Linked DNA regions of Homo sapiens: all the other regions are linked to region 7. The links are contacts of gene promoters, found by promoter capture Hi-C in blood cells and fetal thymus (Javierre and others, 2016). All regions are on one chromosome and are shown on one strand. Each heading gives the region's core, a stretch centred on a gene start or on the middle of the fragment in contact. The rest is flanking DNA. Distances are from core to core; before and after follow the strand shown.

The links. The method cuts DNA at HindIII sites, captures the fragments that hold promoters and counts their contacts. A CHiCAGO score of 5 or more calls a contact.
Region 1: a contact is called between a fragment that was not itself captured here and the fragment with the promoter of MAP3K1 in region 7, in 5 of 17 cell types (total B cells, neutrophils, naive B cells and 2 more). The highest score is 11.5, in total B cells.
Region 2: a contact is called between a fragment that was not itself captured here and the fragment with the promoter of MAP3K1 in region 7, in 11 of 17 cell types (total B cells, naive B cells, neutrophils and 8 more). The highest score is 22.9, in total B cells.
Region 3: a contact is called between a fragment that was not itself captured here and the fragment with the promoter of MAP3K1 in region 7, in 9 of 17 cell types (total B cells, naive B cells, neutrophils and 6 more). The highest score is 25.3, in total B cells.
Region 4: a contact is called between a fragment that was not itself captured here and the fragment with the promoter of MAP3K1 in region 7, in 15 of 17 cell types (total B cells, naive B cells, erythroblasts and 12 more). The highest score is 21.2, in total B cells.
Region 5: a fragment that was not itself captured here is called in contact with the fragment with the promoter of MAP3K1 in region 7 in 4 of 17 cell types (total B cells, neutrophils, naive B cells and 1 more); the score reaches 15.8 in total B cells.
Region 6: a fragment that was not itself captured here is called in contact with the fragment with the promoter of MAP3K1 in region 7 in 4 of 17 cell types (total B cells, neutrophils, naive B cells and 1 more); the score reaches 14.5 in total B cells.

The regions. Positions count from the first base shown.
Region 1 is chr5:56,400,399-56,403,621 of GRCh38, reverse strand. No RefSeq gene overlaps it. Among named protein-coding and RNA genes, the nearest start is that of LINC01948, 80 kb to the left of the region's middle. The HindIII fragment of the contact is 2,844 bases long and covers 54-2,897 here.
Region 2 is chr5:56,338,746-56,342,306 of GRCh38, reverse strand. The region is part of intron 2 of LOC105378977 (a long non-coding RNA gene); the gene reads right to left. Among named protein-coding and RNA genes, the nearest start is that of ANKRD55, 110 kb to the right of the region's middle. The HindIII fragment of the contact is 893 bases long and covers 1,145-2,037 here.
Region 3 is chr5:56,419,080-56,422,423 of GRCh38, reverse strand. No RefSeq gene overlaps it. Among named protein-coding and RNA genes, the nearest start is that of LINC01948, 61 kb to the left of the region's middle. The HindIII fragment of the contact is 1,299 bases long and covers 1,030-2,328 here.
Region 4 is chr5:56,302,531-56,305,723 of GRCh38, reverse strand. The region is part of intron 2 of LOC105378977 (a long non-coding RNA gene); the gene reads right to left. Among named protein-coding and RNA genes, the nearest start is that of ANKRD55, 71 kb to the right of the region's middle. The HindIII fragment of the contact is 680 bases long and covers 967-1,646 here.
Region 5 is chr5:56,361,256-56,364,610 of GRCh38, reverse strand. No RefSeq gene overlaps it. Among named protein-coding and RNA genes, the nearest start is that of LINC01948, 120 kb to the left of the region's middle. The HindIII fragment of the contact is 2,721 bases long and covers 543-3,263 here.
Region 6 is chr5:56,383,621-56,387,157 of GRCh38, reverse strand. No RefSeq gene overlaps it. Among named protein-coding and RNA genes, the nearest start is that of LINC01948, 96 kb to the left of the region's middle. The HindIII fragment of the contact is 3,095 bases long and covers 360-3,454 here.
Region 7 is chr5:56,813,838-56,817,279 of GRCh38, reverse strand. MAP3K1 (mitogen-activated protein kinase kinase kinase 1) reads right to left here and starts at 1,731. Exons shown (of 20, transcript NM_005921.2): 1 at 1,225-1,731. The coding sequence starts at 1,706. RefSeq lists silencers at 634-873, 1,054-1,173, 1,244-2,013 and enhancers at 99-922, 2,374-2,503. The HindIII fragment of the contact is 8,983 bases long and covers 1-3,442 here.

The DNA of each region.
Region 1 (3,223 bases), core at 226-2,725, 410 kb after region 7:
TTAAGTAGGGTCCTAGCATTATATGTAGCCTTGTCCACACAGAATCGTAAGCTTCTACCTCCATGAACTCCCCCCATCTGCTCTCACTGCGCTACTTTAAAGCCTTCAGAGGCTCTTCTCAAATGAAGCATTTTGACAATATACATCTCACATGAACAGTAATTTCTGGCACGAAAAGAATTTTTAGAAATTTTAAATAAAACATGTTTTTTGAAATTATTTGATTATGAAAAAACTAATTTAGTTTATAAGGAGAATATTTGGAAATCTTTGGAAAATCTACCTATAAACTGCTTGCAAATGTACTGGGATTTTGTTTTAAGGTCTATAATTAATTAAGTTGATAGAATGCTGCTGGTCGACATTAACCATTGATTAATTTTGTGTTTATGGGATTGTTATATATGTATGTGTATAATTGCTATATATATTATAATACAAATACATTAGGTCTTGTATTTTCATAATCCTTTTCAAAGCACATAGGTCCTAGTCACAGAGCTCACAATGACAAGTTGATAAAATGGCTCTGCTTATCTCAAGTTGATAAAAAGTCTGTTCCATGGTAAGCACTCAGTATTTGCCGAATCAGTTAAAATACTGACTCATCAAATAACAACCAGAAATTTCTAGTTCTTTTCCCTGCTCAAAGCTCGAAAGAGGGAATTAAAAGATGAGTGGGAATGGGAGGGGAGGGGCAGCAGCTGTCTTCGAATTTCTGTGGATCCTGTTTGCCAAGAAAAGATACATCCTAATTTGGTTTTTAATTGCAGGTGTGATTGTCCCCAGTGCTGCACCACAGACATTACCATGTTAATAGCAGGAAGTGTACTGGGATCAGAGAAGCAAGGTCCCATTTAGTGCAGGAGTTGAGTCACAGCTTTTCTAAAAAGAGGATTCTAAATATACTGAAAGGGGGGACTAGCTGCTGGATATTGGGAAGGGTGCCTTTTTGCAGGTCTTTTTGAAAAAAGGCAACAGATTAAGCAGTGGATCAAAATATAAGTGAAAGACTTGCCCACCAAGTTAAAAAGCAAAAAAGAACTGAACTAAACTAAAAATAGCTCCAACCCAGAGATCAAGAGGACTATTTTGTCCAAGGAAAGAATAGAAGTGGCCCGCTTACACTCCGCCAAGCCACTAGCTTCAAGTGCATCATTGTGCCAATAGCAGAGGGTCTGAAAGGCTTCATTATTAAGAAGTTAATGCTTGACAGCAGCCGACTCCACCACAGCAAAATTACCAGCCTCCGAAAGACTGCCTCCTATGAGTCTTGGGTTAATTACTCAAATCTCCAAATTATCCTTCAGGGAACAAAATGAAGCATGCAGAATCAAAAGCAGATCTGTAGCTGAGATTATGAAAAGGGAGTGGGTTCCTTTCCATTTTAAAAAATGATTATTTCTATTGTAGGAACCACAGAGGGGAAAGGGAAAAAAGCAAAACAAAAAACCTGCCCCTGTACCAAGCAGGCAATAAATGGCTGGCAGCCGTACAGCCCAAGGGGAAAACAAAATCTGCCCATATAAATATTCACATGAAAGCGTTGTCTAAATCTCCTAAACAAGTCACCCCAAATCAAATTGCTTGAGAAGAAAGGGGGTGCTGAAATGGAGACAAACACCCCAAGTCTTGTTGCTGAAAAATATTTTCACTAGCTGCCATTTTCCAAAATAGCTGGATGTACTCAATCAAGCCACCTAATATCTACTGAAAATAAAGTACTTAAACATTATTTCTCCCTCTATATGTACATATATTTATTTCCTAGCCTTACTTCCCATTTCACGAAGTAATTTAAAATGTTTTTTATTTAGAACCGCCACCACCAAAACATTTAATTTTTTTCCTGCTTCCCGCCGCCCCCATCAACCATGGCTGTCAGAGGCTCCCAAAACTTTCTAAGAGAAGTAATTCTCAAACAGAGATCTCTGGGCATATTTTTGGAAGGGGAGGGGGCTCCATGAACTGTAAGAAAATTAAAAAATTTTTAATTTAGTATTTTTGTTATGATGATAATTTTATTTTTATCACTTAGACAACATTTCTATTCTGCAGTGGTGATTTGCTATTGCATGACTTTCATGGAGGAAGTCTTCAATATTTTAAGTCAGTGTTTCTCAAATAAGGGCCTGTGGATTTACTCTCAGTAATAGGAGAAAATTTTATTTCTTAAAAAGGACCTGTATAGTTCACACATTTTAAAAATTGAGCTACAAGGGCATTAATATCTGTTTCACAACCAGCAGACTCTCCATCACCAATATGCATCTGTGAACCCTAAAGCAGGGTAATCGGGCTCATTGGCAAAGACTTCAGGTATTACATAAGAATTCTTCCTAAAATCAGAACAGTAGGTGTCTGCTCAGTCCTGGGTTGAACAAACTACAGATAAAATGCCTGGTACAGACATTGCTTGGTACAATGCCTCGTACAGACTTTTCATGTTAATGTCATATTTAGTTTTATTATTGTTACTTGGATTGCTTAAATCCCCTTATCCTCCTTTTCCCCTCCAAGGCAGACCTGAATATTTACAGACTTGTATGTTTCTCTCATGGGCTGAAAGGGGGCTTCCTCAGTCCCTGGCACACACCACTCTGCTTTCTGGCTCTACGAATTTGACTACTCTGTCACGGACTTTTTGGAATGATGTTCTGACTCTTATGTAGATCAAGGTGAATGAGGAAAACTGTATGTCCTCTTTCTTTGATCTTCTATGGACGTGTGAGTTGCCAAATCCTAGTTCTTGGGTGCAATTCATTGAAATATTTGCCCACCATTGCCTCCTGAATTATTTTGTTGGCCATCTAGAAGAACTGATCTGTGAGCAAGACTGAACTGCCTCAAAATGACCCACAAAGGAAGGCAAAAGTGGAGCTGCTTTTGCTCAAGCTTGTGGATGAACTATTTATAATTATTCTGCCCTAGAAGCTCTGGTTATGTCAAGTTGCAATTTGATATGGGTGGGTCAGAGATCCCAGTTGCCCTTTCTTGCAGCCTAAGTTTCTAAGGATTCCTCTTGGCCTATGCAAAGCTGAAAACTGATAAGAATGGCACTACCATGTTCTTTGTTTTAAAAGTGGATGATTGGACAGAATGCTGTTTGCCAATGAACAGGTAGAGACAATCTGGGATAGCAGCAGGAATTGAATAAATTTCATTTTTGCTTGTTCTTTGGCAATGATTATTGAAACTCACCATCCCTCCTCTCTTCTGTTCT
Region 2 (3,561 bases), core at 342-2,841, 470 kb after region 7:
CTAATTGGCATATTTACAATATTGAATCTTCTAATCCATAAATATAATATATCCCTCTATTGATTTAGGTCTTTTTTTATTTTGACTGAACAATATTTTATTGTTTTCAGTATACAAGTATTGTACACTTTTGTTAAATATATACTTTTTTATGTTCTTGTAAATGGGCTCGAATTGACTTTTTATCAGTGAGGTCTATTTCAGGGAGTATAGGACTTATAATTTATTCTCTATTATCAAGGATACAACTAATATTTTGTTACTAAATGATGTTCAAAAATAGAACTAGAATAAAATTTAAAAATCAATCTGGACAATCTACCTTTAAAAGCACATTGACTTTTTCCCCTTCAATTTAGTACTTCCAAATAAAGACTTTTCTAAAAAGCAACTCTGAGGAACAGAAAATGTAGAATTAAAATTACAGAGAGTGAGCTCTCCACAAGTAACTTGTAGGTAGGGCAAGAATGGCTCATTTTTTTAAGAATGGCTTACTTAAAAAAAAAAAAACAGGCTTACCATCATAATTATACCTTTCTTAGAACAACCTTAAGTTTTTGGACACCTATTTGCTTCTGGGTGGCCAAGAAATTAGATCTGGGGTTAAAAATGCTACCACTAAAAGTTCTCAAAGTACAAAGCCATCAACAATGAAAGGTGCTGAGTGTGAATGTAAGCACAGAGGTGAAGAGCATGGGCTTTGGTACTCACCCTGCCTCTTCTGCACTCTGAGACCTTGGGCAAGTCGTGCAGGCCTCCTATATCCCAACTTCCTTTGTGTGCATACTGAAAACAGTATCACCTGTTCTTGATACAGAAGCTGGAGAAGAAAGAAAGAGAGAAAGAAAGAAAGAGAGAGAGAGACAGAGAGAGAGAGAGAAAGAAAAAGAGACAGAGAGAGAAAGAAAGAGAGAGAGAGAAAGAAAGAAAGAAAGATGGGAAGGAAGGAAGGAAGGAAGGAAGGAAGGAAGGAAGGAAGGTAGGTTACCTATTTCACAAAGTTGTGGTGAGTATTAAATGCGATGTGTATAAAATTCTTCCGACAGCACTAGGACACAGCAAATGTTCAATGAGAGAGACTATTAGAATGTTTCTTTTTTATGAAGATAAAATTGGTGATGATTATGAGTTTTGTTATTAAGCTTATGTATGTAGCAAGTATGTTCTAACTTCCTTCATCATCGATATAAGCAAAAAAAAAAAAAAAAAAAAAAACCCACCAATCTAATAAATGGCTCAGCTTCCAGTAGTCAGCTGGAGAAGGGAGAGTAGAAATGGGAAAAATTGGTGGTGTGGAAACAAATAATAATTCCTCCTCACCAGGCATCAATCTAAGAAAGGAAGGCCCAGAAAAGAATACTAAGGTCCAGCTCTATGACTCTTTCTGTTCTATTACCATTGAAAGAATCTCCCTTAAGGGTTGCTGCTTCTGGTCTTTCAGATCCTAAATACACTATTCTCTGTTTCATGTCAAGGCCCAAAATGAAGACTCTGAGATTTTTCCTAAAAAAATACAGCACAGTGAGCTTCCCATGAGGTAGGATCTCCCCAGGGGGAAGTGGTTCACCTTCCAGTAAGACCAACAATAAGCTGATTGTTAATATCCAGGGTCGAACAAAGACAAGAGGTGAAGTCTGAAAGAGTTAAGGGAAGGAAATACATTTTAAATGGCTTTTACTCCACAGAAAAAGCAGTGAACAAGATCATGTTTTATGTGGATAAATTTGGCCCCTTTTAGTACGAAAAATGGCCTGCCATGCACCATAAACTCTCTTTTGTATCATTACTTTTAAAAATACACCCATTTATCTTTCATTATGTTTTATTATTGCTACATTTTATTATAAACATTAAGAAGAGAGTCATTCTTAGAGGAACAGTCAAGAAAGCAACACTTACTCATGACAGGCAGTGATGAAATGCTGATACAAACTGTGTGTGTGTGTGTGTGTGTGTGGATTTTCACATTTTTCTTTGTCTGCTTTCTCATGTTCTAGGTTAGCAGATTTCCTTACGTTAAATTTCTATTGAGAAGCTTATTGTTTCTTTAGGACTCTTAGAGTTCTTAACTCTCTAAGTCAAGCAGTGTGCTAAGCATTGTGCCTGACACATTTATTTAAATTTTCTTTATCCTTTTGGCTTTCCATCATTCCATCTCATATGCACTCAGATTCAAGTCAACAAAAATTTTGGCAATGGTTACAAAGCACTAGCTCTTTCCATCTGCCACCCAACTTCCAGAGAACCTCAAAAAAATTGATGGTCATCTCTGAGCTCCTTATAGTCCTGCAGGATTCAAAGATGGCACTCCTGAGTGTGCCATGTCTACATGGTCTATGAGTAGCTCCACGTTCTGCTGCTCTCTGCAAGCCCAGTGATGTTTCTTCTGACTCACAGGCTGCTTCACACCTTTCAGAAGTCTCGTACTCTGCTCCAGAAATGTGGGACTTTCCCAGGAAAATCCTGAGAATTGGTTCCTAATCTGTTCCCTGCGAACCCCCACCGTCACCATTGGTAGTTATTTACTGAATGCCTACTGTGTTGTAGACATTGTGCTAAGCACCAAGAACATCATAAGACCTATTTCAGGCTCTCAAGGATACACAGAACAGTGGGGGCACATGTGAAATCAACAATTGTGTGATAAGATTTGTTATGTAGGAGTATGCATCTAAATATGGGTGGAAAGGAGGAGGTTAAAAGAATGGTTCTCAGAGAAGGTGATGTTGAAGAGACAATGTATTGAAAGATTATATAGGAATTAGTTAGCTAGAAGTGGAAGAAGGAAGGAGGATGCTACAGGCAGCGAGATCAGTATGCTCAAAAGTATGGAGTAACCAAACAGTGGGGTTGGTTTGAGGAAATGTAAGAAACTCGGTATGACTGAATGAAGAGGGATTTAAGGAGTGGAGGGAGATGAGGATAACATGTAACATGTTGATTGCATAACTTATGGGAAGTAATCATAGACAACTTTATTTTTCCGTACAAATGACTCTTCCAAATTTATTTAGTGTGGTACTTTTCTCCTGCTCATGAAACACATAAGATCCGAAATCATGATTTCATTGCCTACTCATTTGTAGGCAAGGGATGATCTTAAAGCCCCTCTAAGTTTCTAATCATAATCCCTATTAGGAAATTAAAAAGTCTAGTCCAAGCTACTTTCAAAGGCTTTAAAATTCATTGAAAGGTGGAACTTCTCTGTGCTCATCATGCTAAGGCCTGATTAATAGCCACCTGCCTCTGGCAACATGGGTGTGATTGACTTCAACTCTCTCTGCATCCCCACTTCTCCCCCATTTATTAGTTATGGTTTCTGCCCCAACCAGGATGAAAAAAGATATGGGAGAGAGAATTAAAAGAATAAACCAGTTCTAACTTTGCCAGATAACATTGTATGTTTGCTTCTCAGCATATAGTTAAAGCTGACTCTGTCTTATAGGGCATCTTCATGGGTTATTTGGATGTTTATGTCCCTGGGGATTCCTCCCTATGTTTTCTTAATTCAGACAGATGTAACCCTATTCTTATCATCATTTGCAAATCCTTCCTAAGTCC
Region 3 (3,344 bases), core at 430-2,929, 390 kb after region 7:
TATATCCAGTTAGCAGAAATCAAAACCAAAGCTCACAGACGGACAAAAACGATTCCTTGGAGTGGGTTAACTCTGCAGAGACAGAGCAGGAGGAGAAAGAACCACAATAGCCCTGTCCTTAACAGCCAGTTCCTGGGACTTGGTCCAAAGGTACCAAAGTGGTAATTCCAGTTTGGGCACTAATTCCCACTGGACCTTAAGCAGGTCAGTTCATTCCAGTCAGCAAAATAGAGAGACTAATAAGGGCCTCTCCTCAAGGGCAATAAGGAATAAAGTTTGGAAAGCACTTTAAAATGAAAGCTCCTGTTACAGTTTGCAGAGAGGGAGGCATTCAGAAATACAGCCTATAGGCTTAGCATGGACAAAAAAGGTCAGCATATCCCAGTCTGCGTGCTGATCTAATTAAACCCTGGGCAGCCCTCGCCACTGGCCAAATTCAGATTTCTGTCTCTCCATATAATGTCTAGAAACTACAGATGGATATGAAAGAATCTAAGTTTCCTTCTGCTGAGAAATTAAAATGCAACTCTTTTGAGTCTCTCTCTGTGTACGTCCATATGTATGTGCACGTAGGAGTTGTACTGTATCACCATCCCTCACTTTATAAAAATCTTTGGATTTTTCCTATACTTCAAACACACTCAGGGAAGCAGATAGCATTGTGTTCACCATGGTAATAATAAGCACTAATAAAACATAAAGGTGATTGCAACTCTAGTATAATCCCCTCGCCAGAGGCATCAGTCTCTTTAAACTTATGTGAGAGGCCAGTGCTTTCTGGAAAATATGCATTTATGTTTTTCTTGTTATGCAACTCCACAGCCTTGCCTTGTTATTTTGTTTTGTCTGCTCCAGAAACATTTAATGGATTACTTGAGACTTCTCCTTTTCACTTTTACTTTTCTTTTGAATTTTACTTGTTAAATTCTGGGATTCCTAGCACTCTAGTGATTGCTCTGCAGGACAGACTTCCGGGACTTTCTACTCCAGGTGAAAACTGTATCTTTCACATTTGCACATAGAGAAGCTTGCCAAAACTATCCTCTAGAGAGAAGAAATTTAAGTCATATGTCATTTATTCCAAGGAACATATTCTATATGTTGCCAGTGGAATGATTTGTCTTTTTCCAGGGATAAAAACTAACCCAAAGGCATTCTGGCTTTATTTAAATCATTCACAAAAGGAGACATTTATTATGGTTGCTATAGTTCTGCACTATTGAGCAAAGTGCCTTGATGTTTATATGCCTGTGGGTCTAGTCCTACTATGAGCTTCCAGAAGGAACTGACCAAGTATAAGAATACTAGTAATATGAGAGTGCCTTATTACATTAGCTGTCTCCAAAATAAGGTTAAATTTGCAAAACATTCAAATGAAATGGCTATCACCTGGTTGTACCATGAGTTATTGAGTCTTAGTGGAAGATCACTAATTTATGACACTAAATTTTTCAGTACAGATGTGAACATTTTTCTGTATTTTAAAAAATCCTTTTTCCTGACAGAGCAGCAAAACCAATTTATTCATTCAACAAAAATATTTTAGGAAATTAGTTTGTGCCAGACAGGGAACTTTAGCATAAAAATGGAAGCTCTCTAAAAGGATTGAGGGGAAATTATAGAGCTGAAAACTACAATATTAGAAATGGAAAATTCATTCAATGTGTTTAACTACAATACTGAACACAACCTTTACTGATCCTGAAGAAAAGATCAGTAAATTTGAAGGCAGTTCAATAGAAATTATTTAAACTAAACCATAAAGAGAAAATGAATGAAGAAAAACAATAGAATGTTTTAGATGTGAGACACTGTTAGATGGTCTGATATACAGGAAACTGGTGTTAAAGAACAGGAAGGAATAAGGCAGAAGAAACATTTATAGAGATAATGGCTAAGATTTAATCCAAGGTTAATGAAAGACATTAATCCACAAATCAAAGATCAGACTCTCCTAAGAGTTTCCTATGCTACTTAGAATAAATTCCAAGATCATAGACTAAAAGTTGCTTTTGATTTGGCTGTGGTTTACCTCTGCAACCTCATTTTCCTGCATACTTTCCTCAGTGAATTCATTCCAACTCATCTTTCAGCTCTTCTTTTAGATATTTCCCTGGCTGGTGCCTCTGGATACTCAGATTTCAGTTCAAATGTCACCTTCTCTTGTCTGACTCTTACCTCTCTACTTGTCAACTCCAGCCCCATTCTCACCTCCCTTTTACTCTCTATTTAATTATTTTGGATTTTTTTCATAGCACATATAATTATTTGAATTTAATTTATGTTATGAATTCACTATTTTATTCTTCACTCATTAGAATGCAAGCTTCTTGAAAGCAGGGAATATGTATTTTTCATCATTGTGTAACATCAATTCTTAGAAAAGTGTCTGGCACATAGGTAGAAGGTCATCGTAGGGGTGTGTGTGTGTGTGCATGTGCGTGCACAGTTTCAGAAATTATTGGGGCCTGTCAAAATTCTGAATAGCTCAGCTCATATTTACTGATGCAGCTCACTCTTCCAGCTCATCTGCACTTCCTCCTTCTGATTCTCATGTTGGCAGGACAAGAGAACACAGAACATGATATTATCACAACATTTTTACCACAGCACACACTTAAGGTTAACCCATCCACAAAGATGCTTATGAAAATCAAACAGAAAAGAGAATAGGAAGCAGGGGGTGAGTGGTTTATTTCTTTTAGACCTGCTGCTTGAACTTACTTAGACTCCTCTTAGATCTGGAGCTGAATTTTTTGACATTCCTGGTCACTTTTTCTACTCAGAGCTGAGTTGGGGTCAAGAAAGGAAAAATAAACTAGTACTTAAATAAAATAGCATACATTTGAATAAGTCTCTTAATTTTTCTAGGTATTTTATCCTGCTAATTCTATTCCTACAGCATCTGTATAAAGAGATAAGCGGGCCAATCTAAAAGGATTTCTAATGAAGTTAGAAAACTGAGGTTCAGCGAGGCTAGGTGACTGTGTAAGTCTATTCTCACACTGCTATAAAGAACTACCTGAGACTGGGCAATTTATTAAAAAAAAAAAAGGTTTAATCGGCTCATGACTCCACAGGCTGTACAGGCTTCTGCTTCTTGAGAGGCCTCAGGAAACTTACAATCATGGTGAAGGCAAAGAGGAAACAAGTACATCTTCACATGGCCAACAGGAGACAGAATGACAGGGGAGGTGCTACACACTTTCAAACAACCAGATCTCATGAGAGCTGTATCTCAGCACTAGGGCAATGGTGCTAAACCATTGGACACCGCCCCCATGATCCAATCACCTCTCACCAGGCCCCACCTCCAATGCCAAGAATCACAATTCAACATGAGA
Region 4 (3,193 bases), core at 57-2,556, 510 kb after region 7:
GCAGCTGTGGCTGCCATACTGGGACCAGGAAGCCAGGATCAGGAAGCTGCTGCTGGCCCTGGCACAGGCAGAGGCCACCTCAGCAGACAGCCACATCACTGCTAGAGAGGCAGCCAGGAACATTCCAGGTGGGAACTCCAGGATTCAAGGAGAGAAGTCACCACGGAAAAATTACCAATTTGCAGGACGATAAGTAGGCTTTCTTCCATGAGTACATTTCCTGGCCACAAAAAGACAATCATGGTTTTATCTTGGCTTTATATATAAGAATATGTAAGTAGAGTAGTTTGCTTCTGCTGAAGTTCTGACCATATGCCTCACCCTCAGGTCATCATCAGATGCCAGTTGTATATGTTTAGGGATGTCACATAACATCTCTGGGCTTCAGTTTCTTAATCTGCCAAATAACAGCATATGATGAGATGACTTTTCCAAAGACATGTTCTGTTCTAAAATCCTGTGAGCTATTAGTGTAATTAAAAACAGATATCTGCTACATCCTTTTTTGCCCTGAAGGACTGAGCCAGCCACAGATTCATTTCAGTGCTATTAGTGACTGTTATTGCTGAACTGCAGGCCTCTCAAAATTCGTATGTTGAAGCCCCCACCCCCAGGGCCTCAGAATGTGACTGTATTTGGACACAGGGCCTTTACAGAGGTATTAAATTAAAATGAGGTAAATATGGTGGGCCTTAATCCAATACAACCGGTGTCCCCACAAGAAGAGGAGATTAGAAAACAGAGAGACGATCATGTGAAGGCAGAGGGAGAAGCCACCCATCCACAAGCCACGAGAGGAGACTCAGGAGAAACCAAACCTGCCAACACCTTGATCTCAGACTTCTAGCCTCCAGAGTCATGAGAAAATAAAGTCCTGTCTTTTAAGCTACCCAGTGTATAGTATTTTGTTAGGGCAGCCCCAGCAAACTAATACAGTGATATCAAAATAAAACTTTCCAGAAAGCTTTCTGACAGCAAGAGAAAAAAGGACTAAGAAATTTCGCCAGCCAAGATATTCACTATACAATTAATGACCAGGAATGTAGCTAAATGTCCACAGGTAGGAGGCAGAATATCTTACCAGAGAAAGTGGAGACAAATACTGGACAACATTTCCATTTAGTAATAGAAAATGTTGTTAGCTCTATAGAGTATATGTAAAAGGTCCCCTGATGTTAAAGAATTGTTGGGATATCAGAAATAATGGCACAGTCAAAAAATCTAGAGCTCAGAGAATATGTACATTTTCTGCGAGAAAAATGACAATCACTTTATTGGCTATAATTTGAGATGTAGTCTAAGTTACTCTGGTCACTGCTTCCCAAATGTGTTGAGTTCCTCCCTGGGCTTTCCACTGGGTAAGTGAATGACCAGCTCATTGTTTTTGCCCTCTTTAAACATTGCTACCAGCCACTCTCCTCTCAGAGCCTCCCAAGTCTGACAAATATGAGCACCAAGAGGAAAGGAGAAGGGTCTGATTTCTGTTCATGCTATGACCCACTTGGTTCTCTGCATCTGCAGTCCAGCAGTTAGTTCCACACCTGGGACCATTTGGATTCCACTTGCAGGCCTGGCACTGCCTCCCCTCATAAGCTCATTTTAAGCCCAGGTGGATGTAACTTTGTTGATTCAGCATGAAATAAGCTTTGGCCCACCTGGCTTAGATACTGAGCTTCTGAGAGTACAATGACCTGCAAAAGGGTGCCCACACATACATAGTGGTATGCTGATTTCCAGGTCCATTCCACTATCCTAGGGATTCTCAGCTTTTTTCATATTGTGAGACATCACTGTGGGGCAGGAATGACCTAAAGGTTCCAGCCATCTAGGACCTGCCTGTGTTCCCCAAGGGTTGAGAGGATCAATTACTTGGACACGCCTGTTACCCAGTCCTACGGAAGCACACAAGCTGGGAGCTATGATGCTCTACTCCACTGCAACCATTAATGGCACTAAGTAGAACTAAGACTATACCTTATTGTCTACACCAGGGGTCTCCATCTCCCAGGCCTTGGACCAGTATTGGAACCAGGCTGCACAGTAGGAGGTGAGCAGTGGGGGAGTGAGCATTACCACTGAGCTCTGCCTCTTGTCAGATCAGCTGCAGCATTCAATTCTCATAGGAGCGCAAACCCTACTGTGAACTACGCATGCGAGAGATCTAGGTTGTGTGCTCCTTATGAGAATCTAACTAATGCCTGATGATCTGAGGTGGAAGAGTTTCATCCCAAAACCATTCCTTGCCCACCCTTTCCATGGAAACATTATCTTCCATGAAACTGGTCCCTGGTGCCAAAAAGGTTGGGGACCACTGGTCTACACTATAGTAGTACTTGAGGGTGACCATGAGATGCCTACTAAGAACTTAGAAAGAGTGAAATGATATTGCTTTCTACACATTAAACAGCGAGAGCAGTTTATATTAGGCTGTAATAAGAATATACAAATCACTTTAAAAAGACAGCATGTTACCCGGGAAGCACTGTTGATTATAACTTGATTAAAAGCATAGAAAATGTAAAGATAGCATGAACCATCATCATCAAGATCTAGAAAATGGGAGGGTGAATATTGGCTGAGACTGTTCAGGTGTTCAGGGACATGGAGCTTTAGCTGCTAGGCTCCAATTTCTCCCTTTTTCCAGACCATCCTGATGGCAGGATGGATACATCCAGCCATCTCATCCTGATGCTATTATACACATATATCTAAATCTCCTCATCTTGATTCCATGCACACAAAGCATCCTTCTCATTTTAGTTTTGCCTTCCATGTAAGTCTGCCTTGGGAAGGGGAGTGAGGGAATGTACTACTTGCAGGGACTTTCAAGAGTTCTGGTCCCCAAGATGGGGATGTCTCCTGATAAATCAGAGAGATGACTTCCGATTACAACTTGGGTTACCATGAAGATTTTTACAGGGAGAAAATTTTCTGGAACAGGCCAAGAGGAGCTTTCCTGTCCATGTGACGGCTATAGATTTCATGCAGATTAATTGTTTGACATTCTTAAATCTCATGCAAACTAATGTTTATTTTTATTGGCATGGATAACTTACCACCTGATCACCAGCCACTGCCAATGATGAGAATCTGAGTATTTGAAGAAGTGAGCGGACCCTCACATGATGGAACTTAATGAGGGCCTATAAAATGTGGCCATGCCCAGCTGCAGTGGGTACTTCCTTGGGCCGTA
Region 5 (3,355 bases), core at 654-3,153, 450 kb after region 7:
GAAATGTAAAAAGCCCTAGAAAGCAAGGAGAATCTTCAGAATAACTTGAGCACATGGTTCATGTAGGAAAACATAGAAGTTGAGGCCAAGATGATTCAAGAGGTACCTGAGTGTAATGGTCAGTAGACAAGAGTCTGGCCTGTGTTCAAAGCCTAGCTCCTTTATCAACTCCATCACTTAATCTCTGTGTACCTTCATTCTTCATCTCTAAAATGAGGATGATAATACCTCATGGGTGCTAAGAAGAGTTCCAGGCATGGTTTGCCAAGAAGAGTTCCAGGCATGGTTTGCTAGAGTTTGTCCTGAGAGATGATGAGGACCAGTGCTAAGAGTGTCAGTGGAGACCAATGGCTAGAGATGTCTCTCAGATGTATTTGAAAGATATGTCACATGATTGGATTGGGGAAAGTGAGGAAGAGAACAGCAAGGAAAAGATCAAGCGTGGTGTATTAGTCCATTCTCATGCTGCTAATAAAGGCATACCAGAGACTGGGTAATTTATAAAGAAAGAGGTTTAATGGACTCACATGGCTAGGGAAGCTTCACAATCATGACAGAGGATGAAGGAAGAGCAAAGGGACATTTTACAAGGCAGCAGAAATGACAGAGTTTGTGCAGGGGAGCTCCAATTTATAAAACCATGAGATCTCATGAGACTTATTCACTACCATGATAACAGTATGGGGGAAACTGCCCCCATGATTCAGTTATCTCCAGCTGGCCTGGCCCTTGACACACGGGTATTATTACAATTCAGAGTGAGATCTGGGTGGGGACATAACAAAACCATATCACATTGCAATCATGTTTCTCACTTGAGAAAACCTAGATGGTAGGGGCAGTGATCAAGATCAGAATATAGGAGGTTCAGAATATTACTTTTTAATTTATTGTGTTTAACATTCCCAAATGAAAATCAGGTAGAAGTCTCTGTTAGGCAGTTAGCAACAAGACCATGGAGCTTTGGAAATAGCAAATATAGATTTAAAGGTTGCCAGCATAAAGATAGTAGTTGAAATCAAAGAGAAACTTTAAAGTGAGAATATATAGAGCAGGATTTCTTAACCTTGGTGCTGTTGACACTTGGGGATGGATGATTCTTTGTGTGTGTGCAGGGAGGAGGGGGGTGCTGTCTTGTACATTCTAGGATGTTTAGCAGTACCATGGCCTCTACCCAACATAGGTGCCAACAGCACCTTTTAGTTGAGACAACCAAGAATGTCTCCAGATAGTCCCAAACTTCCCCTGGGGGGCAAAATCGTCTTTCCTTGAGAACCGCAGGTATAGAGTGAAAATGGTAGAGAGGGAAACTTGGGCAAATCACACACACACACTGAGCCTCAGTTTCTGAATCCATTAATTGCAAATAATTCTAGAAATAGCACAGATAATAAGCAGTGTGGGGAAGGACTCCTTATTCAACAAATGGTGCTGGGATAACTGGCTAGCCACATGCAGAATAATGAAACTGGACCCCTTCCTTATACCATATAAAAAAGTCAACTGAAGATGGATTAAAGACTTGAATGTAAAACCCAAAACTATAAAAACCCTAGAAGACAATCTAGGCAATACCATCTTGGACATGGGAACAGGCAAAGATTTCATGATGAAGATGCCAAAATCAATCACAACAAAAGCAAAAATTGACAAATGGCATCTAATTAACTTAAGAGCTTCTGCATAGCAAAATAAACTATCAACAGAGTAAACAGAAAACCTACAGAGCAGAGAAAATTTTTGCAAACTATGTATCAGACAAAGGTCTAATATCCAACATCTATAAGGAACTTAAACAAATTTGCAAGAGAAAAACAAACAAAAAAAACATTAAAAAGTGGGCAAAGGACATGAACAGACACTTTTCTAAAGAAGACGGGCTGGGTGCCGTGACTCACACCTGTAATCCCAGCAGTTTGGGAGGCTGAGGCAGGGAGATCACTTGAGGTCAGGAGTTCAAGACCAGCCTGGCCAACATGATGAAACCCCATCTTTACTAAAAATACAAAAATTATCCAGGTGTGATGGTACACGCCTGTAGTCTCGGCTCCCCAGGAGCCTGAGGCACAAAAATCCCTTGAACCCAGGAGGCAGAGGTTGCAGAGAGCCAAGATCCCACCACTGCACCCCAGTGTGGGTGACAGAATGAAACTCTGCCTCAAAAAAAAATAAATAAACATGAAAGTTAACAAAATAAAGACATACATGTGACCAAATATCATATTTAAAAAAAGCTCAATATCACTGATCATTAGAGAAATGCAAATCAAAACCACAATGAGATATCATCTCACACCAGTCAGAATGGCTATTAAAGAGTCAAAAAATGGCCGGGCACAGTGGCTCCCGCCTGTAATCCCAGCACTTTGGGAGGCCGAGCACCTCAGGCGGATCACCTGAGGTCAGGAGTTCAAGACCAGCCTGGCCAACATGGTGAAACCCCATCTCTACTAAAAATACAAAAAAAAAATAGCCAGGCATGGTGGTGGGCACCTGTAATCCCAGCTACTTGGTAGGCTGAGGCAGGAGAATTGCTTGAGCCCAGGAGGCAGAGGTTGCAGTGAGCCAAGACTGCGCCAATGCACTCCATCCTGAGAAACAAGAATAAAACTCTGTCTCAAAAATGAATAAGTAAATAAATAGTCCAAAAATAACAGATGCTGGCCAGGTTGTGGAGAAAAAAGAACCCAAAAGAACACTGTTGGGGGGAGTGTAAATTAGTTCAGTCATCGTGGAAAGCAATGTAGCAATTCCTCAAAGAGCTGAAAACAGAACTACCTTTCAACCCAGCAATCCCATTACTGGGTATATACCCAGAGGAATATAAGTCATTCAACCATAAAGACGCATGCACTTGTATGTTCATTGCAGCTCTATTCACAATAGTGAAGACATGGAATCAACCTAAATGCTCATCAATGACAGATTGGATTTAAAGACTGTGGTACATATACACCATGGAATATTATGCAATCATAAAAAAATGAGATAATGTCTTTTGTGGGAACCTGGATGGAGCTGGAAGCCATTATCCTTATCAACTAATGCAGGAACAGAAAACCAAATACCGCATGTTCTCACTTGTAAGTAGTTGCTGAATAATGAGAACTCATGGACACAAAGAAGGAAACAACAGACACTGGGACCTACTTGAGGGTGGAGGATGGGAGGAAGGAGAGGGGCAGAAAAAATAACTATTGGGTACTAGCCTTTGTAGCTGGGTGATAAAATAATCTGTACAACAAACCCCCATGACACAAGCTTATTTACATTACAAACCTTCACATGTACCATCAAACCTAAAATAAAAGTTAAATAGAAAATGTGATATATATACACAATGGAATACTGTTCA
Region 6 (3,537 bases), core at 658-3,157, 430 kb after region 7:
AGCCATCATATTCTCAAATCTTCCCAAGTAGCACCAGTATTTTCATCCAAGAAACTCTTTAGATCCCCTTAGTATCATTCTGTGCCTGGGGTTTTCCGCACTTTTGGACACTGCCATTCATTCAACAAATTCAAGGACGATAAGACGCTGCTGTAGCCCTCCCGCCTGGAGTGTGGAAGACAGTGGGCGAGACAAACTCAATAGCAATGCATTGCTATCTTTATAGACCCAATTTCTAGTTATCTCTGAAACTATGGTATGTGGCTCTTTGAACGTTCTATTTTGTCTTATTTTGCTTTGGAAGTGCATTCTTTCAAGTCTAATTAGACTATTTGTGGCTTAAAGAAAAATACAAAGCTTTTCCCAGGACACTTTGGGCTTTCATGTTTACCATCAAATTAGCAAAAAACAAACACACACAATTCTAAGGCATTTATTTTGAAATTTAATTGTATACACACTTGCATATAATTTCAACTTCACAGTGAGTTGTCCCATAGGCATTTTCTGCAGAAAATTTTTGGAAAGACCAAAAGAATGTTTGTGCCTACTGGCTAGATCCAGTTCCCTCTGGGAGGACATTACAGACTCCAATTCACGTGAGATGCTAGGCAGGCTAGGACTGAGGATACCCAGGAATCCTCTCGCTGAATTTCCTGGTGTGGAGCTCATTTGACAAATGTGGTTTCCATTTATGAAACTGCTTAGCAACCATCCTGTATTTTAAATTCTGCTAATGTCAAAAATCACAAAACTGAGAAAGAGGAGGAAATTTGAGGCTTGCTTGATTGATGAAGAAACCAGGGCTCAAGTAATTGCATAACCAAAACCATCAACTGGGCTTAGAGCTAACACAACTTGTTCATGCAAACCAGCATCAACAAACCCCAGAGCCACACAATTTGCCACCCAGACTTCTGGTTAACGCCCAGCAAAGAGGCCTTGATTCCTGAAGGTTGCAGGCTGATAACTCCAATAAGACCAAGAAACCTTGTGAAAGTACCACTCACCAACTGATTGTACTGCTGGAGCTCCCAGAAACCACGTAGATGAGGAAATTCAACTGGCAAATAGCAAACTGCCTCAATGATATTTGAAAATTGATTTAATGTTATTATAATTCCCTGAATAACCAAAGATCGTCTGGTGAAGGGTAATCACTACAGAGGGAACATATGTTGTTTTAAAAATTATGTCACAAGCTGTAATTCTTTTAACTCTGTTTGTAAAATTAGGTTATATCCCTGATATTACATATTTTATTCTTCCTTTCTCCATGGGAACAAGATATCTTTAACTGTCCTTAGGACTGGAATGATTTTGGGGTAAACTAAATAGAAAGGTTAGAAGAAGAATAAGAAAGAGGAGGAGGAGAGAGGGGGAATGGGAGAGGAGGAAGAGGAGGGGGCAGGAGGAAGGAGAAGGAGAAAGAGGAAAGGGAAGCAGGAGGAAGAAGAGGAGGAGGAAGAGAAGGAGAAAAGAAAGAGAAAGAAAAGAATAACAGCAACAACAACACTCAAGAGAAGAGCACTAAAGGATGATAGAACCTCCCTGCAATACTAAAACACTGGCCTTAGGGTAAGTAGAATGATTTTTTTTTTTTTTTGATCCGTATTCTTCCATTTTTTCAGTCTTCACATCCTAATGCTGAGACATCAGATGGGTGAGGAATTCAACTGTGGGGTAGTTTCTATGAAATTAGGGTGATGTATTATTTGCCAGGGGTCTGTGAGAGAAGTAAATAGCAATCTAGATACTCCAATATTAATTAGAGGTGAAGATAATAGAGATGGATTTTGAATTTGATTTTTTGAGTCCTTTGGATAAAGATGCAAGAGAATCCCTCAGGCAATCGCTCCTTATGTTCCTCAAGGATTTTCTCACATGGATTCTAAATCAGGGTTTATCTTAGCAAGCAGTCTCTAAAATCTTGGATATTTAAAAAATGTTCTGTAAGATAATGTTTCCCATAAGTTTCCAGCAGATAAATAAAAGGAATGCTCCAGAAGACAGTTCAGGTAGTATGGAGCCAGTGAGATTTGGCTGTCCAGTCTTTTTTCTCACTTAGACTCATTTCGTGGTTTCAGACAAAATTCTTTCCTCTCTCCACTTAACTAAAGAATACTCATCACGTGTATACATATGTAACTAACCTGCACGTTGTGCACATGTACCCTAAAACTTAGAGTATAATAAAAGAAAAAAAAAGAATCCTATCTGAGGTTGCTTGATGCAAACCTTTTTCTTTATTTTCATTATTTTCTTAGTATCTTTTATTTTGTTTTTGATTTTTCTTTTTTGTTTATTTCATCTCTTAAAATTTTTATTAATCTTGAAATTTTTAGCATTTTAATAGCTGGGTTTTTTTTCTTTTGTGGTGGTTTTTTGTAGAAGCATCATGAGAAATGTCTAGACATTGAAAGCCTTATCCCTATCATAGCCTGGTTTTAATCTTATTAACTCCATGTTTTCCCAGTATGAATGCTCTGTTAAAACAGTATTTACAAGCAAGACAGGACAGTGGCCCACCCAGGAATGACACAAAGCCAGGGGAGCCTCCCCCACCTAGGGAAGCGGTGAGCAAATGTGCGACCCCGGAAAACCACGTTTCTCCTACAGATCTTCGCAACTCTTGGGTCAGGAGATCTCCTTGTGAACCCAACAGGGCCTTCAGTCTTGAGTCAGAGGGACAGAGCTAGGTGGAGTTTCGGCAGAGCTCAGGCTTGCGCGCAGACCCTGGAGCCTTAGATACTTCCGCTTTCCAGCAAAAGCAGCTGCAGCTCTGGCAAAGTGGGAGGTTAGACTCCCACACATATTTCTAGGAAAGAGCCTGAATCCCGGGAGCTGAGCAGCAACAGCCCGAAGATCCCACTTCCACAGCATCTCACAAGATAAGACCCACTGGCTTGGAATTCCAGCCAGCTACCAATAGCTGCATTGCAGCCCCATAAAAAGAAGCTCGGCAAGGGGGTGACATCTTTGCTGTTCGGATGCGTTAGTCATTCCAGCTTTCAGGCTTTGGAGAGTCTGAGCCAATCCAGGGTGGAAGGGATCCCCCAGCACAGCACAGCTGCTCTACCAAAACGTGGCCAGGCTGCTGATTTAAGTAGGTGCCCGATCCCATTCCTCCTCACTGGGTAGGACCTTCCAACTGGGACCTCCAGTTGCCCGGCTCAAGCTCTCCACGGACAGAGATCTAAATTCCCCCAACATGGTACGCCCAGAGAGAGCGGGGCGGGGCCGCGGGGGTGGGGGTGCTAGCTTTGCTGTTTGGGTGACTTAGCCATTCCAGCCTTTGGGTTTCATAGTGTCTGAGGCGACCAGAGCCTGAATTTTTTTTATCTTCTCTACTGATTTCCTATTTTAAATGTCATCTTCAATTTTATGATTTATTTTCTCCTGCTTATTTTGGATTAGTTTGCTCTGCTTTTTCTAGTTTCCTAAGGTGGAAGCTTAGATGATTGATTTTAGAACTTTCTTCTTTTCTAATATATGCATTCAAGGCTGTAAATTTCCTTCTAAGCGCTGCTTTTACTG
Region 7 (3,442 bases), core at 482-2,981:
CTCAAAATACCCATCAAGACTTTGTACTTTGCATACGTTAATCAGGTTTTTAAAAAACAAACAAACAAGGATGTAGCTGTCACACTTAAAAGAATTTCCTTTAACATAAAAATTTCCAGTAGCCAAAAATGGGCGAGGCCAATAAACCGCTGGTCTAAATTACCTTACACATACTGTACTTCATATGCACCAGAAGACGCATCTGAGCCGAAGCCCACCGCACTGCGGCCCCTGGAATTCAGCGGGCGGCCCGCGCCAGGGCACCGAGCAGGAAGCACTGCACCCGCGCCGCAGTCCCCGGGCCAAGCCGGAGGGGCTGCGGGGAGCAGTCACCACTGCTTTGAAACTGAATGGCTGACACATCCGGTCCTGGCTCTTACACCACTCCGCCAAATGCAAACTTCAAAGGCCAAATTCAAACTCCAAACAGAAGTCACTCAAGTGACTTAGCAGTGCAGTTCGCATTCCCAGGAACACTCAAAGCCCCTTGGGGGCTGCAATTAGACAAACCGCACTTCCTAAAAGACTGCAAGCCTCCGCGAGTGTGCAGCCTCCCGCCGCACGGCTTTGACAGGCGTTACCGAGCCGTCCTCCTGGAGCCCTGCGGCCGGCGCTGGGGGCGCGCCGCCTGCGTCCGGGCCCAGCCCGCGGTATCTGCCTAGGGACTCGAGTCCCGGGCGGGCCGAGGGGCTCTGCCTGTCACGGCCGCTGGGACCTGCTACTTTCTCTTCGGTCCTCTCAGTCTCCCACCCGACCTCGGGCTTCTCACCCACCCCGCCCCTCTTCCGACCACCGCCCGCCTCAGGCTCGGGCCTCGCCCCCCAGTGCCTTTGCCCCGGGGACACCCGTCCGGGGGCGCCGCCGCAGGGCCGTGCCCCGCCCCCGGGCTCCTCGGAGAGCCCCGATTCCAGGAGTCCCACAAAGCCAGCCGTGGCCCCCTACACCTTTTCGCAACGGTTCCCCGCAGAGAGGCTCGCACGCCTGTCACATGTCTGCAAACAATAACAAACTCTTCCGCACGTCCCCGTCCGGTCCCCCAGGCTGGGTCCGGGGCGCCGCCCGACTCCGAAGGGGTCGGGGGGTGCTCAGGGGCGTAGGTCCCGGCGAGCGGCGCGTAGCCTCGCTGCGCTGAACCCCGGGACGCCGTGCATGGTGCCCGGGGTTCATTCATTGCCCTCTGCCCGCTCTCCAAGTCCCCGCCGCGACCCCGGCCGTGCTGCTCACCCGGCGGGGGCCGCTGCAGGAGACGGCTCGGCGGCGGGCGCCCGCTTCTCCCCGGGCTCGGCCGCTGCGGGACTCGAGGCGCCGCTGTCCGGCGCCGCCACCGACTCGGTAAGGTGGGCGCCGCCGCGGCTCGCGGCTCCGTGGGGCGGCGGCACCGCCACAGGCTGGAAGCCGGTCCCACTCCCCGCTGCGTCCGCGGGCTCCGGCGACGGGGAAGTCGAGGAGGCCGGCGGTGAGGCGGCAAGGAAGAGCGGCTGCTCAGGCAGCTGGTCCAGCTCCACACTCCGCACTTTGCGCAGCTGCCGCCGCCGCCAGTCCGCCCGCTCGCGGCCCCCGCTGCCCGCCTCCCGCAGCAGTCCCGCGGCAGCCGCGGGCGCGCTGCTCGCCTTGAGGGCTCCTCCGCCGCCGCCTGCCTCAGGGCTCGTAGCCCTGGCGCCCGGGAATCCCGACGACGAGGCGCGATTCCCCGCCGCCGCCGCCATTTTCTCTCGCGGGCTACATTCGCTCGGCCCCTGCGAGGGAGGGAGGGGGCGGGGAGAGCGCAGGGGGCGGGCACTGCGCCGCCAGCGTAAGGCCTCCTGCGCCAACTGCGTGAGCGCGGCCCGCCGGGCGCCTGGCCTGGACTGACCGACGGGCGGGCGCACTGGGTCCGGCCTGCGGCAGAGGTGTGGGTGGAGGGCGGCCCGGCGGCCGCAGGTGGGAGGGAGTGGGCTGTGCTCTCCGCCGGGCGAGAGGGCGGGCGGGCGAGGTGGACTGGGAGGCGGAGGGGGCGGGGGCGGAGGCGGAGGCGTGGGCTCCCGGGACTCTGCGCGCTGCACGCGCCGCGCCGCCAGGTAGTCCCGGCCGCACCGGCGACAGGAGGAGCCTTGGCGGCAGCGCTGCGCCGCTTCCTCTCGGCAATCTCGGCCCGGCACCGCGGAGCTCGCGGGAGGGGAGTTGCACCTTCCGAAAGAAAGAATTAGTTCCAACTTGGGTTTCTGGTGCTTGAAGGGGACGCAGGCGAGAGGGTTTACAGTCTGTCATTCCCACTGCCCTTTGCAGTGGGCGTCGGGGGACCCGGGCGTGGACCAGCCTCCCACCGACGCGCAGGTGGCGCCCGGGACCGTCGCCTGCTGCAAAGCGAAAGCAAGTCAACGTTCAGCAGACAGGCTGCCGCGGACCAGAAAAATAAAGTTTTGTTTGTGTTTTCTTTTGAAAAGAAAACATTCCTTCTCTATTGTCCCACCCCTGTCCCTGTGCTACAGATAACAAAACTTCAAAGTTTTCTGTAATACCTTACATCCTGAAGCTGCTGATTTGGGACAACTACCCCCTACCCTCACCAAGTCCCCACAGCCTCTGAGAAACCGTTGGGGCGAGGAAGGGAGGCGGGTGTCCCCGTCGATCTTTAGTTTTTCCTTGGCTGTCTTTGGGAAAGGCAGTCCCGTACAGAACCACATATAGCGCGTTTGGGGAGGGGACCAGCGCTGTGCCAGGAAGTGCTCGGTAATGTCACCCTCGGCCAGGTCCCGGCCCTCCCCGAATCCGATGCTTCTCGCCGCACGTCCTTCTTCCCTGCAGGGTCGGGCCACCGGCCGGGTTCCCTCTGTCCCCACTCCTGCAGGGCCTGGCTGCCCATCGCTGCGTTGTGAGTCCTCCTAGTCCCTGGACTCTACGTGAGAAGGTGCTTTGGGATGGAAAAAGCAACATTTACACGTTAATGATTTTTGACCTTTTGTCAACTGAGGAGAACTTCTGTGTTGCGTTTATTTCTTCCTTCCTTTCCTTTCCTCCAGCTGGTTTGTTTAGGATGGGGAATCTCCCAAAACCCAGGAGGAACGTCTATAGATTTACTTTGTGAAACATGATTAAGGAGGGGGGAGGTTGGGGTGGGGGGGTGCGGATTCTCACGGAGATAGTCTTGTCAGTCTTCACATATTTAGACAAAAGCCTGAACTATTTACAGAATAATTCCATTGACTTCTGGAGACTAGGTAAAATGAAAGCCCCTTTCCCAGATACAATGTTAACTGCGTAACCAGGTTAGATCAGAGGGGTTTTAAAAAGTCCAGATTTCATATTAGCTCAATGATTTGAAAACTGCTGTAACATCTCCCATAAGATAGTTTTAGATCGTTACACCCAACGGTACAAATTTTGAAAGTTCAGATAAATCTGTTAAAAATTAAGTCTACATTTAGGCTATAATTATATGCTATTTTAATGGCAGTCAAATGTA